Regions from separate parts of the Homo sapiens genome. Here all the other regions are linked to region 1. Evidence: promoter capture Hi-C in 16 types of primary human blood cells and fetal thymus (Javierre and others, 2016). All regions are on one chromosome and are shown on one strand. The core of a region is centred on a gene start or on the middle of the fragment in contact, and the rest is flanking DNA. Distances in the headings are between cores, read along the strand shown. Region 1 holds the start of RAB3GAP2 (RAB3 GTPase activating non-catalytic protein subunit 2). Region 2 holds the start of ACBD6 (acyl-CoA binding domain containing 6). Region 3 overlaps HNRNPU (heterogeneous nuclear ribonucleoprotein U).

Evidence for each region. Contacts are between HindIII fragments. The CHiCAGO score rates a contact against its expected background, and 5 or more counts as called.
Region 2: a contact is called between the fragment with the promoter of ACBD6 here and the fragment with the promoter of RAB3GAP2 in region 1, in 1 of 17 cell types (non-activated CD4 T cells). The highest score is 7.4, in non-activated CD4 T cells.
Region 3: a contact is called between a fragment that was not itself captured here and the fragment with the promoter of RAB3GAP2 in region 1, in 1 of 17 cell types (activated CD4 T cells). The highest score is 6.1, in activated CD4 T cells.

The regions. Positions count from the first base shown.
Region 1 is chr1:220,270,770-220,273,943 of GRCh38, reverse strand. It overlaps RAB3GAP2 (RAB3 GTPase activating non-catalytic protein subunit 2), which reads left to right and starts at 1,491. Exons shown (of 35, transcript NM_012414.4): 1 at 1,491-1,721. The coding sequence starts at 1,607. RefSeq lists an enhancer at 2,896-3,174. The HindIII fragment of the contact is 3,718 bases long and covers 1-3,174 here.
Region 2 is chr1:180,501,115-180,504,288 of GRCh38, reverse strand. ACBD6 (acyl-CoA binding domain containing 6) reads left to right here and starts at 1,712. Exons shown (of 8, transcript NM_032360.4): 1 at 1,712-2,244. The coding sequence starts at 2,023. RefSeq lists a silencer at 1,645-1,744 and enhancers at 1,955-2,144, 1,666-2,166, 2,274-2,789, 2,790-3,174. The HindIII fragment of the contact is 1,534 bases long and covers 815-2,348 here.
Region 3 is chr1:244,857,712-244,860,211 of GRCh38, reverse strand. It overlaps HNRNPU (heterogeneous nuclear ribonucleoprotein U), which reads left to right. Exons shown (of 14, transcript NM_031844.3): 5 at 838-937; 6 at 1,371-1,483; 7 at 1,938-2,201; 8 at 2,495-2,500. Among named protein-coding and RNA genes, the nearest start is that of SNORA100, 4.7 kb to the right of the region's middle. The HindIII fragment of the contact is 609 bases long and covers 946-1,554 here.

The DNA of each region.
Region 1 (3,174 bases), core at 242-2,741:
GCCTTTTATAGGTGAAGAACTGATTCCTGTTAACCTGATAACATAGAAATTGCCTATCCTATTTTGTGAAAATCATCCTACTCTAGAAGTAGGAAATAATGGAGTAGGAACCTGGGCACTAAATTATAGTTGTTATATTATTAGGACTAAGTGTGTATGTCCACGGGCCTGACAGAAATGAATGCTCTGGACCCCATCCACTTGCCTTTCATTTGTTCCTGTGCCCTTTTTTCATACAAAGTGGATGGCCTCTTTAGGTTTCCTTTAGGAAATGTGTAAGTGCCTACAGGCCTTTGTGCTCACATTAAAATAATTTTTTTTGTTTTTATTTTTTGGAAAAATAACTTAAAGTCTGCTCAGAGACAGCTCAATTTCTTTATTTTAAAAATGGGATAAGACACACTATTTTTAGATGGCATTTGTGACTATCCAAATGAACAATGTAAAGTACTTTCAAAAATAGTGCTTTGTCAAAGAAACAAGTTATTCTATTTACTTTATGTATGCATTCCATTTATTTCTTCAGCAAATATTTATGAAGCACTTACTAGCATGATCACAATTTCAGTTAAATAGTTAAGTACAGTAGTCCCCCCTTTATCCATGGGTTCATTTTCCACATAATTATTCAATTTAATTATTAGTTATTGTTAATCTTTCACTGTGCCTAATTTATAAATTTAACTTTATCATATATATGTATAGGTAAAAACATAATACACATACATAGGTTTCAGTACTATCCATGGTTTGAGTCATCCACTGGGGATCTTAAAACATATCCCCTTGGATTAAAGGGAAATACTGTAATTAATTGCTTACTGCCTGTATCAGTCACTAGAATTCCAGCTTTCTGGGAAAAGGTACTTCTTCTCTTTTGTTCTCTAATGCTCAGCACCCTGCGTGGCTGGCATTTAAAAGACTAACAAATATTTGTTGAATGGATGGATGAATGCATGAATGAAAAACCAAATGAATAATGAAAACAAAAGTGTATAATACACTATAACACGTACTATATTGGGCTTGCGTAGTACTATGGGAATCTATAGTAGGAGCATTTAAAGCCAGCCTTGACGGGGCTAATCTCCGGAAGAGCAATTAATCTTTTCAAAATCCGACTCTTGCAGGATACGGTCCCCCACTGGCCTGCCACTAGTTTAAAACGAATTAGTTTCTGTGAAACATCAGGATCGTGCCAATAGTAGGGGACCAATAAGACTGAATAAGTCAAAGGGCTGCGCGGACAAGTCCAATTAGAACACCTCTGGCTAAAAGCCAGAATGAATGAAAGGGTTCATGCCTCGGCGTAGACACACAACTGGGACTGAAAAATCTGCCCCAAGCCTCCACGTCGACTTTGGCTCCACCTGCAGCGGCGGCGCCGTAGTCACGTGACCCGGGCCCCCGCGCCCTAGGCGCCTGGGCCAGCCTGCGCCTGCGCAGTACTCGGAGACAGCGGACCCGTGTCAGTGACAGCTTCCGGTTTGGTTTCTCCGCCTTCTGCTTGGCTAGAGCTATTGGGGCTCGGTGGCGGCCGCAGTGGGGTGGAGGGGGCAGGGCGTGGTGAGGTAAGGTGAGTGCCGTAGTGGGGTTCCCTGGAGCCATGGCCTGCTCCATTGTCCAGTTCTGCTACTTCCAGGACCTCCAGGCCGCCCGGGACTTCCTCTTTCCTCACCTGCGGGAGGAGATCCTCAGCGGCGCCTTGCGGAGGGACCCCAGTAAGTGCCTCTCTGGCCTCGCCCTTCCTTCCCTCGTCACCCGCGGCCTCTGCTCACGGGTTCGAGTCTCCTACTCGCTCTGCGCCTCCTGCCTCTGCCCTCTGGACCCCCAGTTCTCCCCGTGCCTCCCCTCCGCTCCGGGATGACACCCTGCCCACCTCGTCCTGAAGCCCCATTTGTGTTGTCTTCCTCTCGACCCAGCTTTTCTCCTTAGGCCCTCTGACCCCTGGCTAAAAACTGCGTCTTGTTTCCTCTCGCCTCTGCCTATCACCGCTTTCTCCCTCCCTCCCCCCACCCCCACACATTCCTAGCTTTCTCTCTGAGTATCTTCTCCGTCTCCCATCTTCAGCCTGGGGTCGTTCCCTGTTTCATGTTGCCTGCTCCGTGATCGCATCCTCCCCGTTCCTTGCCACATGTCAGCGCTCCACTCTGGTATTGCCCCAGCTCCCACTCTCTTCCATCCCGGAGACTGTGGCCTTCTGCTACCTCCCATTCCGAAAGTGTTGATCATCCCCCCACACTCTCCCTTCTTTCATCTGCATTTCCCCCATTCAGATTTTGAGAACAAATGGCTGACAAATGAGTGACTCTTGAGGTAAGACTCTCTCAAAGAAGGAAAATAACCTGTCAGGAAGTGAACGAGAATCTACATTAGGAACTAAAATTACAGTGACATAGCCAAGAAAGGTTAATTTGCTTTATTGAAGCCTTCCACCTATTTTTATCATCAAAGTGTTTAATAAGCCTTTCCCCAAGTAGTATAAAGTTCCAAGGCTGGTTTATTAGATACTATATAGGCTTTCAGAATTTCGTACATTTCATTTTGAAAGGGTGTGCCTTGTGTTTTATTTTATTTTATTTTATTTTATTTTATTTTTGCATTTCCAACCTGAAGCACATTTGGCTTTGTAGTACAGCGCTCTCACTTTGTGCTATACCGGAATGGTGATATAAAGCCCACTAAGCTCCTCTCCCTTTTTTAGAAAATTTAGAAGATATCAAATCGAACCCATCTGTGAATGATTGCATACTTTGTGCCAGTCATTGGTGCTACAAACCAAATAAGGTTGGTGGACCCTGCTGTAGGAACTTCTGGTTTACAGACAAATCATTAACTTCCATTCAGTGTGACTGAGATATACATGAGGCATTTTCTTGAAGTGGTGATACTTAAGCCTACCTTTGAAGTACTAGTTAGAGGAGTAAAGGAGCAGTAATAGCATGTGCAGAGGAAGGGAGGCCTGAAATGGCATGGTATTTAGAGAACTAAGAAAAGCTGAATGGCTGGAGAGGAGGATGGGAGAGGAAGAGTTGGGGCAATGAGGCAGTAGTAGTAATAAGGAGCTAGACCATGAGAGGCCTTGTGAAAATTGTGGCGTTTCTCTGAAAGTTTAAGTAGAGAAATGACATTGTCAGATTTGTACTTAATGTAATCAACAACATTTGTTGAAGA
Region 2 (3,174 bases), core at 463-2,962, about 40 Mb after region 1:
GTTATGTAAACTCTTCCAGAATACAGAAAAAGATGAAAACTTCTAAATGCATTCTACAAGGATTCTATTACCTTGATACAAAATTGAGAAAGTATAGAAAAGGAAAACTATAGGTTAATGACATCTTTAAATGGAACTGTAAAGATAATGAAAATATTAGCAAACTGAACCTACAAATTTTTTAAAAAAACCAAACCAGGACCAGAATGGGTTTATTCCAAGAACAGAAGTAATGCTCAAAACTAGGAGGTTTTGAAATAATGCATACTAATTTATCAATGTTAGCTATTATATAATTCATTAAATCCCAAATTTATTTTTGTTAATATAATTCATTAAAATAGAAACTGTTAATATAATTCCTTTCGAAGACTAGAGGAGAAAAGCAGATAATCTCCAAAGATGCCAAAAAAGCCGTTGATAATATTCAATTCTCACTTTAATAAAAATTCTAGAAACAAAGATATAAAAGTCCATGTTATATCTCCTTCAGTCTACTTGTCGGGTTCATCATCCATTATTACCCCACATGAAAGCTAACTTCTTTTTCCTTGCTCCTCCATTTGCTAGCTGTGTAGCCTTTGACAAGTTACTTAACCACTCTGTGCTGATTTCCTATGTGTAGTAAAATAAGAGTACCTACCTTATGTTGTAATGATCAAGTCCTCAATACATTATTCTTAATCACTTTTTAATTGCAAGAATTTGGTCATTAAACATCCCTTTGACTGGATTGCGAGCACCTTGACAGCAGGGACTAACAGTGGAACTTTCTGGAGACTTAAGGAATGTCTGTTGAATCCTGATGCAAGCTTTCTCACCTTCCTGTGTTCTCTCATTGCTTCCTCATCCTGTCCAGCCGTCCGTCCACCCGTCGCAAGCCTAACCCCAGTCAATAACCACTGTTTACAACACTTTCTTTGTACCCTTCTTATAGTGCTTATTACATTGTTTTGAATACTAAATGAATATATAGTGCGTCGTTGTGTTTAACATTTAGGACATAACCACTCATAATGTTACAGTTAAAAAAATAGTTTTGTGCATTCCTCTAGGGCCGAACTGTGCCGTACTTCTGGTTTCACTGTACAGTGTCTACAAAGCACAGTGTCAAAGACAGAGCTCGGGATGAGAACTGGGCTAAGGCGCGCCCCGAACTCCCCAAACCCTATTATTCAGGGCCCGGAGAGGTGCGGGCTCCGAAGGTGTGGAGAGCGAAACACGCAGAGCAGTGATTCCACTCATCAGTCACACAGTAAGACGGGACAGCCCCATCTCGCAGTTTTTCATTATTCAACACAGAGCCCAACGCGCACGCAACAGATCCGCGCGCAGGGCTGTTTGGAGGCGCTTGGGGCGCACAATCTGGGGCAGGCGGAACCTTAGTCCTCAGCCTCGCGTTTCCCGCGACTCCGCTCTCACCGCTACACTACCACACAAACGGCCTCCTTCCCCCACCCCCGGGGGCCCATCCCGGTGGCGGGCTCCGGAGCTCGGGACTGCTAATTTCAGCGAAACGATTAAAAGACGCCCCTACAGCTGACGGCACTTTCTCTCCTCCGGCAGGGAAGGACGTCCAGCGTAGCGTCGCCCGCGCTTCCCCGCCGGCGCAGAGCAGGCCTCACAGAATCGCACGCCGCTGGCACGCACGCCGCCCCGCCCCCACGGCCCAGCGCCAGCCGCGCCCCGCGCTCGCACGCATCCCGGCCTCACTGCCCCTCGACTCCTGTTCCGTTGGAGGGGCCTGAGGCGAGCCTGAGCGCGCTGTTGGCCGGAGGGAAGCCGGAGGAGACCGGGTCGACTGGGCAGAGCGGCAGAGGGTCGAGGAGCCTGCTCTGCACGCCCAGGGAGTAGAAGTGGGCAGGGAGCAGGGTCACGTGAGGGAGCGCGCCGCGACTGAGCTTGGGTCCGACTGGAGCTCAGGCTCGCGACCCAGACTGGTGGGCCAGGCCTCCAAGCCGGCCTTACACCCAATCCAAGGAGGACAGACCGGACACAGAGGGACGGAGCGAGCAAGGAGACATGGCTTCATCATTCCTGCCCGCGGGGGCCATCACCGGCGACAGCGGTGGAGAGCTGAGCTCAGGGGACGACTCCGGGGAGGTGGAGTTCCCCCATAGCCCTGAGATCGAGGAGACCAGTTGCCTGGCCGAGCTGTTTGAGAAGGCTGCCGCGCACCTGCAAGGCCTGATTCAGGTGGCCAGCAGGGAGCAGCTCTTGTACCTGTATGCCAGGTACAAACAGGTAAAGTAGCAGGGAGAGGGTGGATGGGGGAGAAAGACACGGAGCCTTCTTCCTCAACAACTGATAGCAAGCATGTATGGTTAATAGCTAGGTGTAATGAAGCTTGTGTATGTGTATTTTGTTTTGTTTTTTTTTTTTTGACCATCTGCTGGGGATGAGCATCATCCTGAACGTGGAAAAGATGTTTGCTTTCTTAGGAGTGATGTTTATTTAGCTGGACACTGGACATTGTTTTTGTGTTTTTTTCTCTGACTTATTCAGTGATCTTGCATTTTACCAGCCCAAGAACCTTTACAAAATGAGGATAAAATAAGATATATCATTCATTTACTCTTTCCCAGAGGGCCACATGGAAGTAAATACGGTAAAGTTAATAAAACTATATAGAGATCCAAAAAGATAATAGGATTGTAATAATGTGATGCAGGGCTGGGCGTGGTTGCTCACGGCTGTAATCCCAGCACTTTGGGAGGCCGAGGCGGGAGGATCACCTGAGGTCGGGAGTTGGAGACCAGCCTGACCAACATGGAGAAACCCCGTCTCTACTAAGTTAGCCGAGCGTGGTGGCGCATGCCTGTAATCCCAGCTACTCGGGAGGCTGAGGAGGCGGAGGTTGCGGTGAGCGAAGATTGTGCGCCATTGCACTCCAGCCTGGGCAACAAGAGCGAAGAAACTCCACCTCAAATAATAATAATAATAATAATGTGATGCAATGCAAAATGCAGTATTACAACTTTTATTGTGATTTTTATAAAATCCTAAATATCTTTGATTTATGTTTTCGTTGAGTATGTCTTCCTTTCTGTTTGATACAATCTAAAAATTTTAGAGCTATGAACACCAGAGGAAATAATGCCCTTCTTTTACAGTAAAGGAAACTGAAGGCCATAGAGAGTAGGCACCTTTCCTAGGGTCATACAAATACATCAG
Region 3 (2,500 bases), core at 1-2,500, about 25 Mb before region 1:
CTCCTTGCTTCAGTCTCTCAAGTAGCTCGGACTAGAGGCACACACTACCACACCTGGCTAATTTTTGTATTTTTAATAGAGATGGGGTTTCACCACGTAGGCCAGGCTGGTCGCCAACTCTTGACCTCAGGTGATCCACTGTCTCGGCGTCCCAAAGTGCTGGGATTACAGGCATGAGCCACTGTGCCCAGCCTTTTTTTTTCCTTTTTAAAATAGTGACAAGGTCTCACCATGTTGCCCAGGCTGGTCTTGAACTCCTAAGCTCAAGTGATCTGCCCGCCTGAGCCTCTCAGAATGCTGGAATTACAGGTGCTTCATACTGCTAAGTTATCAAAGGTACTTATTTTTGAAGCTTCCTGTAAATTAAAAGAGGAGCTTGGAACCTTCATTTTGTTGTGACAGTTAATCACGGTTGTTATGTTAGAACTTGCCATGCAGAGCTAGGCGATTTTTTATTTAGGGTACTTCATTTTTATCAAGCATTTGAAAGGGCCACCAAAGAGTTAAAAATAAAATTTGGTTACATTACTGCTTTTGTTGGTGAGAAAAACATTAATTGTATCCTTTAATTGGCTTTAAGTTAAAGACTGACAACATGAACTTTAAAAATATTAAGTATTCTTTTAAATATGGGTCAAATAAGTATTTAACTCTTTAAATTTCAAGTTATAAGCACATCAGTTTAAAGTTCTTACAAATATTGGGGGTGGGCTAGAGTGTGCCTTCTTTGTATTTATAGCTAGAGGAAGATTAGCCCGTGGCGCAATGAAATATGCGAGAGTTAAGGGGTTACCTCCTTGGTGTATTATTTTAATTATTTAATGATTTGACTTTCAGGTTACAGAGAAGATCCCAGTAAGGCATTTATATACAAAAGATATTGACATACATGAAGTTCGTATTGGCTGGTCACTAACTACAAGTGGAATGTTACTTGGTAAAGCTTCTTTTTGACTGATGTGGGCTCATGAATGTTCAGGAGGGTCTGATTTCAGTGTTTTTTAACTAGAGGGCATTCTAAGCCTTTTGTCTGTTTTTATCTATTCTGTTAATACTTCAGACAGGTAATATTAGCACATAGTAGGCACAGGCTACATTTTAGTTTTTGTTCCTTTATTAGAAGTTTATGACCAATGGTTGAAATAAAATCTTACCCGTGATATGCAAATCGTCAACTAATTTGGTCTCTGCGTATATATCCCTCCTAACTTCCATCAATTCTGGTACAGAGATAGAAAAGTAATAGTGTCAGTGACAGGTGATTAGGTTATATGCTTATTTCTCTTGTAGCCTACATCTTAAGTAGTAAAATAGATGAGTCTTTGGACTATTTTAAACATCTACTTCATGAAGATTAATTATTTTCTTAGGTGAAGAAGAATTTTCTTATGGGTATTCTCTAAAAGGAATAAAAACATGCAACTGTGAGACTGAAGATTATGGAGAAAAGTTTGATGAAAATGATGTGATTACATGTTTTGCTGTAAGTTAAAGCTAACTTTCTATGTATAAATGGCAAAGTTAGTAGCTATATCTAGGAACTTTAAAGAAGCTTTACTGAGGTCAGTTTTCAATATGAGCAACAAAATACACCAGTCCCTGGATTAGTGTAAAGACTTCATTCAGCAGTTGAATTGGGAAAACACAGGACATTTTTGAGGAACTCACTAATTCATTTTGACTGAAAACAGTGAACATGAAATTGACCTAGAAAATTCAGTCTAGCTTCTAGGTCAGTATTGTTTCTGGTTCTGGAGATACGTGCTTCATGGTTTACAACCATCAGATTTCTTAACTGTGTAGCCCTTAAAGGCCACCTAATAGTTCTTTAACCTGTAGCTTCCACAGGATAAGCTTTGCTCCTAATTTTAATTCTTAGTTTTTTAGAAAGTTTAAGGAAGCAGATTTTAACTGTTGAATTTTTTTCTGTGTAACAGAACTTTGAAAGTGATGAAGTAGAACTCTCGTATGCTAAGAATGGACAAGATCTTGGCGTTGCCTTCAAAATCAGTAAGGAAGTTCTTGCTGGACGGCCACTGTTCCCGCATGTTCTCTGCCACAACTGTGCAGTTGAATTTAATTTTGGTCAGAAGGAAAAGCCATATTTTCCAATACCTGAAGAGTATACTTTCATCCAGAACGTCCCCTTAGAGGATCGAGTTAGAGGACCAAAGGGGCCTGAAGAGAAGAAAGATTGTGAAGTAAGGGATTTTTTTTTTTTTAACTGTGGCATTTGAATATTGCTTGCCTGGCACAAAATGACATTTAGAAGAACTAGATGATTAGTCTGTTTCATTTACTTTGTGCTGTGCATATTGCTCTTAAGTAATTGTTTCCCCCTTATGTTGACTGTTAATCTTTCCATAAACAAATTTTTGTCCGTTAGTGTAAGGGCTATGAAAACTTAGATATTTAAATTGGCCTTAACAATATTTAAAGAATTATTAGGTGGTGTCTACTGACAGTGAAATGACATTTCTTTTCTTTTCACTAGGTTGTG